2 separate regions of the Homo sapiens genome follow, and region 2 is linked to region 1. The links are contacts of gene promoters, found by promoter capture Hi-C in blood cells and fetal thymus (Javierre and others, 2016). All regions are on one chromosome and are shown on one strand. Each heading gives the region's core, a stretch centred on a gene start or on the middle of the fragment in contact. The rest is flanking DNA. Distances are from core to core; before and after follow the strand shown. Region 1 holds the start of LRRC63 (leucine rich repeat containing 63). Region 2 holds the start of SLC25A30-AS1 (SLC25A30 antisense RNA 1).

Evidence for each region. The method cuts DNA at HindIII sites, captures the fragments that hold promoters and counts their contacts. A CHiCAGO score of 5 or more calls a contact.
Region 2: a contact is called between the fragment with the promoter of SLC25A30-AS1 here and the fragment with the promoter of LRRC63 in region 1, in 1 of 17 cell types (monocytes). The highest score is 5.3, in monocytes.

What each region holds. Positions count from the first base shown.
Region 1 is chr13:46,210,465-46,213,667 of GRCh38, forward strand. LRRC63 (leucine rich repeat containing 63) reads left to right here and starts at 1,464. Exons shown (of 10, transcript NM_001282460.2): 1 at 1,464-1,795; 2 at 2,538-2,655. The coding sequence starts at 2,571. LOC107984578 (a long non-coding RNA gene) reads right to left here and starts at 1,388. Exons shown (of 4, transcript XR_001749863.3): 1 at 1-1,388. RefSeq lists a silencer at 1,220-1,549. The HindIII fragment of the contact is 5,320 bases long and covers 1-3,203 here.
Region 2 is chr13:45,416,495-45,419,411 of GRCh38, forward strand. SLC25A30-AS1 (SLC25A30 antisense RNA 1) reads left to right here and starts at 1,668. Exons shown (of 2, transcript NR_047031.1): 1 at 1,668-2,244. SLC25A30 (solute carrier family 25 member 30) reads right to left here and starts at 1,879. Exons shown (of 10, transcript NM_001010875.4): 1 at 1,806-1,879. RefSeq lists enhancers at 1,234-1,283, 2,094-2,283 and silencers at 1,514-1,843, 1,884-1,983. The HindIII fragment of the contact is 21,864 bases long and covers 1,116-2,917 here.

The DNA of each region.
Region 1 (3,203 bases), core at 214-2,713:
AACCGCCCTAGGTTTTAGTCTCATACTTGCTAGAAGAAATCTGCAAGGAATGATACCTGGATGCCTGCGGATTCCAAGTGTGACAAAGCATTTTTTGAAAAAGCATTCAGAAGCCTTGCTTTCGACTACACAAAGCTAAGCATAAATTTTAAAGGCCAAACGTCAGTCAGTAAAACTGAATTCCTGTAGTTCTCATGGTTCCAACGATCTTGAAGAGCATAGGTACCTGACTCAATTTACACTGTCATTTTTTATGCTTAAAAATATAAACCTTTTTTCACATTTACAAAATATGCACGATATATATTACTTGAGACTAATCTTAGCCACAGAGCTGCCTTTTATTTTCAGCTTTGTATTTCTGAGAAACTAATGAATCTATGGTGTAGATAACAGCAAAAGTGGAAATAAATTCATAGTCTGGGGCAGCAGTATAATTGGGACACAGTAAACTTACAAGGAAAAGAAACAGTACACTACTACTGTAAAGGAAAACAAGTTGCATAATATTTTCCAGAGTCTGATTACTTTTTTGTTAAAACTTTTCTACTTTTTTCATTGATTGTTTTAAAACATGTTTGCTACTAAGGAGAAAAAGGAAGACATGGTTATGGTGTGAATCTTGAAAGATCCCCAAAGCTAGAAAGATTTATACAGAAGTCTCTCATTTTCCAACTTCTGTTATAAAGTTCCTGCGCTAGTACTTAGAAAAAACCAAACCTGGAAGGAAGCTCTACCTAGTTTACTTTCTGAGTTCGGATTTCCGCATCTATCAGATGAGCTCTTTCTAGTGCTCTTTCCCCCTCAAATCTCCAGAGAAACACGCACATTTTTGCAAACACACACGATGTATCTATGACTGCACACACAGGTTCATCAACACCATGACAGAGGCGACACGTCACAATATGATAACCAGAACAGAGGACGATGACAGTGAGAAATGGGTTTCTTTTATGGCCCGCTTGGATCCCTAATGCCCTTATTTCTACACAATCCAGCCTCAGCCAGGAACTTTAAAGGATCAGAAAGAGAAAACAGGTTGCATGAAAGGAAGAGAAAGAAAACCGAATGCCCGCTTTTCGAGAGCACTGCAAAATTAGCCCCGGGACCCGGCTGCACAAAAGTGCAGCCTTAAAGAATGCCAGCCCATATTCTAGACACCCAAGTAAAGCATCCTGTAATCGAGAGAAAATAATAAATAATAGTGGTCATTGCCATTAAGCATAAAAATAGTAATAACAATTGTCACCACGGCGTTCCGTACAGCAGCTGCGCGTGGAGCCGGCTTCTCCTCCGGCCCCCACGGCCCGCAGCTTCCCCTGCAGCCCCACAGTGCGTCGGAGGAAGGCGAGGGCTCCGCGCGCGCTGCACCGTGGGCTGGGCCTGCCCCTCCCGGCGCCCGCCTCGCCTCGCCTGTCCCGCGCCCGCCTCGCCTGTCCCGCCCCCGCGCCTGCGCGTCAAGTGGCTGGGCTGGCTTAGCGGACCCCGGTTGCTAGGGTGTGTCTCCTTGGCCTCCTAGAGGGTGGGGATCCGTGGTGCTTCTTCGGGAACAGCCTCCTGCAGGAAGACCCTCGCTGGACCTTTACCTCGCTGCCTAGATTCCGAGGAAAAGGAGATAGGAGACGAAAAGCCAGTTGGTTTGGAAAGCGGCCGATTATCCTAAAGGGTAGTGTGGGAGTCCAGCACTTCCATGCCCCTCTTTGGGTACTACGGAAGGGAGATTTCCAGCATCGTGTGGAACATATGACCAGGGAGTACACCTTGAGCGCTTGTGTGCAGTTATCTTTTGGCGGTAAACGGCCCATTTGTGCAGTTTCAGGGTGTTCCCTTCTAGGCTATCAATGGAATAATGCCGTGCCAGGCACTTTTGATGTTGCCCTGCAAACTAAAAGCACATTTTGGGGGTGCATCTTCTCGCATTATTTCTAAACAGTATGAGTTGGGATCCAGCAGCCCTGGGAAATCTCATTATAGTGAAACCCATCTTATTTTAGGATTGAATTGTTTTGGCCCAAGCATAGTGGTTGAAAAACAAGCCATTATAGAAAGAAAACAATTTGTTTGTGAATGGTTAGATATGGTGGGTCTTCAGAGGCTTATCTAATGAAGGCATCTTCTACACATTTCTGACCAAATTCTCTTTCTACATTTATAGCGATAACATTTTGGAGAGAGAGAAAAAAAATGTCATTTCGACTATTCTGAAAAATCAGTATTTACTAGTTGAAATAGCATTGGCAAATTGAACTTTGTACTAACATGGAAAATTGTAGAATGATCCTGGGTAGTAATAATACACATATTTTTAAAATTCTATGTTTACTTATAACCCTACATTTTAACTGGATTCTTTCTATTAATAGAAGTTTTAAAGAATTATTTTCTTACCCTCTTTTTTTTTCATAAAGGAATTCTGCCTGGATTCAGTAGAGTATTGGTACAGAATGATTTTCTTTAAGATGTAATCTAAATTCTTATTATTTTTCAACAATTCAAACATATTCAAAACCTTTTCAATTCTCATTTAAACCAAGGATTATGAAAAACAGCACTTATTATTCATTAAAATGCAAAAGCCCCCACTGCTTCTTCGAAGACCCTTACCTCCAAAATTCACTAAGCTGTCTTTACATGAGAAAAAAACCCATACAGGTATGTGTATTAATCAGATATGTGTATTAACATTTATGTATCTTTCATAGAAATTCCTTGACTTGCACAGCTCAGAATCACAATAAATACACTCACTAATAACTTACAAATGTTTGTTGTCAGGTGATAACATCCAATTCAATTCCACAGATGCATTTACTGATACTTATTGGTGGACTTAGTAGATTCAAGTTTATCTCATCGATAAAATTTACTTGTAACCCCAGAATTGGTACTCAAAGGGCTTTCTCAGTCATGCGTGGATATGTGCAGAGCACTGAAAATGAGTCACCCAACACACATGCCTCCAGCTGAGGTGGAACAAGGCTACCTCTACCTTCTTGTTTCAGCTCTCATATTGTAAACGGGTACTGTTTTCCCTGTCTGTTTAGCTCTATGTTTCTTGAATGTTTGTGCTTTTAGTTAGTGATTTCACTGTGGGCCCCAAGCATAGTGTTGAAGTACTGTCTAGTGTTCCTGAGCACAAGAAGGCTGTGATGGGCCTTACAGAGAACAAGATATGTGTTAGATAAGTTTCCTTCAGGTGT
Region 2 (2,917 bases), core at 418-2,917, 790 kb before region 1:
AGTCACACATACCTGTAATCCCAGCTACTTGGGAGGCTGAGGCTGGAGAATAGCTTGAGGCCAGGGGTTCAAGACCAGCCTGGGCAACAGAATGAGACGACCACCTATACTAAAAAAATCCAAAACATTATCTAGGTATGGTGGTACGCGACTCTAGTCCCAGCTACTCCGCAGGCTGAGGTGGAAGGGGCACATAAGCCCAGGACTTCAAGGCTGCAGTGAGCTAAGACCATGACACTGCACTCTAGCAGCCTGGGTGACAGAGCAAGACCCTGTCCCAAATAATAAATAAAGGTTAAAAACAAGTTTTCTGAATGAAATTGTCTATACAAATTAAGAATTTCAAAGGATTCTCCCTACACTTAGGATATATGCTAAGTTACACATCCTGTCTACATTTTCTCTTACATGGTTGCTTAGTATTTATTTTCACCCACCTGACCTCATGTGTACAGCTGTAAAGGGAGGTAATTAAATATAATACTAGCTGTTCGTACTTTTGAACGCTTTCCAAGTTTCTCTTATTTATTTATTTAGAGGCGGAGTTTTGTTCTTATTGCCCAGGCTGGAGTACAATAGCATGATCTCGGCTCACTGCAACCTCCGTCTCCTGGATTCAAGCGATTCTCCTGTCTCAACCTCCCGAGTAGCTAGAATTAGACATCCGTCACCACGCCCGGCTAATTTTGTATTTTTAGTAGAGACGGAGTTTCTCCATGTTGGCCAGGCTGGTCTCGAACTCCTGACCTCAGGTGATCCGCCCGCCTCGGCCTCCCAAAGTGCTGGGATTACAGGCCTGAGCCACCGCTCCCAGCCGTTTCTCTTATTTAATTCTTGGTAAGTTCTTTCAGTTTTACTTCCTGTTCCCTTTTTAGTCTTAAGTCTTAAAACTGTAATTGCACAGCCTTTAATGTGCTCTCATACATTTATTGTTCCTTGCTGGACCGACTGCCCTTTCAATAATGCCCTTTCATGAACTTTTCCTATTTCCTATTCTTTTTAAAGGTGCAGAAGGAAAACTAAGCTCATCACAGACTTACAAAAAGCCGGGTTTAAAAGAAATCTTCGAAATTATCATCTCGTTTCACGTTAATTAACTGAGCCCGCGGTCACAAAGCTTCGCAACGGCAAAGCCAAAAGCAAGATTCATGCCTTTCAACTTTCTCACTACCCAAGTAGCACCGCAAGCCGAATCCGCAGGGCAGTGCCAACATTGTTTGCTACTCTTGCGCAGAACAAAAATGCTAATCACTGCAACTGCTTTACATGAAAGTGCACCTAGAAAGACTTCAAAACCCAGAGGTACATTAACTTTCCAGGCAAGTTCCTCCCAGCCTGTGTGCCACGAGCGATTCCGAATGTGGTGTGCCCTCTCCCACAGTGCGAAGCTCGCGGGCGCTCAGGCTGCCGTTTGAATGAACGCACGAGTGGGAGGGACGCACAAGCAGGGTTGCAAGCCCGGGGCTCGTTAGCAGACGCGGAGATGCCAGGACGGGCTTCGCACTCGGATCTGAATGACCCTGGAACAGGAATCACCCCACGCCAACAGCGATGGGGGCCCCGCGGCACCGGCCCGACCCAAGGAGGCAGCAGCCCGAGAAGCAGAGCCCTGTCCCCAGTCCCCGGAACCTCGCGCCCCGCCGAGCCCGGCCCGGCCTGCGAAGTGGAGAGCACAGGCAGCCCCGAGCACGCCCGGTTGCAAAGGAGGCTCCTCGGAAATCGCAGCCCAACCTTACCCCAGGCCCGGGTTCCAGGAGCCGCAGAGAAAGCGGGGCCGGCAGGAGGAGGCACGGGCCAGGACTTACCTGGCGGCAGCGGCCCCACACCTCCTCCAACCCGGACTCAGTTGTAACAAGAACCTGAGGCCGCTGGAGAAAAGGAAAAAATGCCGTCGCGGGCGGGGCAGACCCACGAGCCTGCACGCAGCCCCGCGCCGCCCCGCCCCGTCCGCGCAAACACGCGACCTCCTCAGCTCCCATTGGTTTCTGCCAGCACTAGCCACACCCCTGACAGCCCCAGATGGGGACACGGAGGGGCGGGGCCCGTCCCAAGTGCCCCTCAGGATCTTCCCCTGCCGCTGCCTGAGGGAGCTGCCCGGGACTCGGTGACACCTGATGTGGCCTCCGATATCGACTGGGAGGTGGAAGAGAAATTTGGGGAACGCATCGAGAACCGTGGAAAAGCAACCTTCGCAGGGGGCAACCTTCTCACGGTGCCCCCGTGAACCTTCACAGTTGGATGGAAGTAAACTTGCCCTTATTTTTTTATACCCCAGCTTTTAGCTTGAAAATATACAGATTAGCCGGGCATAGCGGCGGGCGCTATAATCCCAGCTACTTGGGTGGCTGAGGCAGAAGAATCGCTTGAACCTGGGAGGCGGAGATTGCAGTGAGCAGAGAGCGTACCACTGCACTCCAGCCTGGGCAACAAAGCGAGACTTCGTCTCAAAAAAAAAAAAAAAAAAAAAAAAAAAAAAAAAAAAAAAAAAAAGCCAGACCTGGTGGCGGGTGCCTGTAATCCCAGCCACTCGGGAGGCTGAAACAGGAGAATCGCTTGAACCCGGGAGGCGGAGGTTGCAGTGAGCCAAGATCGCGCCACTGCACTCCAGCCTGGGCGACAAAGTGATACTCCCTCTTAAAAAAAAAAAAAAAAAAAAAGAAAGAAAATGTCCAAACAGAACAAAAAATTAAAAGAACCGTACTATGAGTAGAAATCTTTACATATATATCTAATATACATATATGTAAATATTTATTTATATATTAATATATAACATTTTTAACGGTATGGCAGTGTTTGTGTTCAAGCATACCCAGGTATATTTTTGTTTTGTTTTGTTTTTAGACAGAGCCTCACTCTTGTTGCCCAGGCTGGAGTGCAATGGCACCATCTCAGCTCACTGCAACCTCCGCCTCCC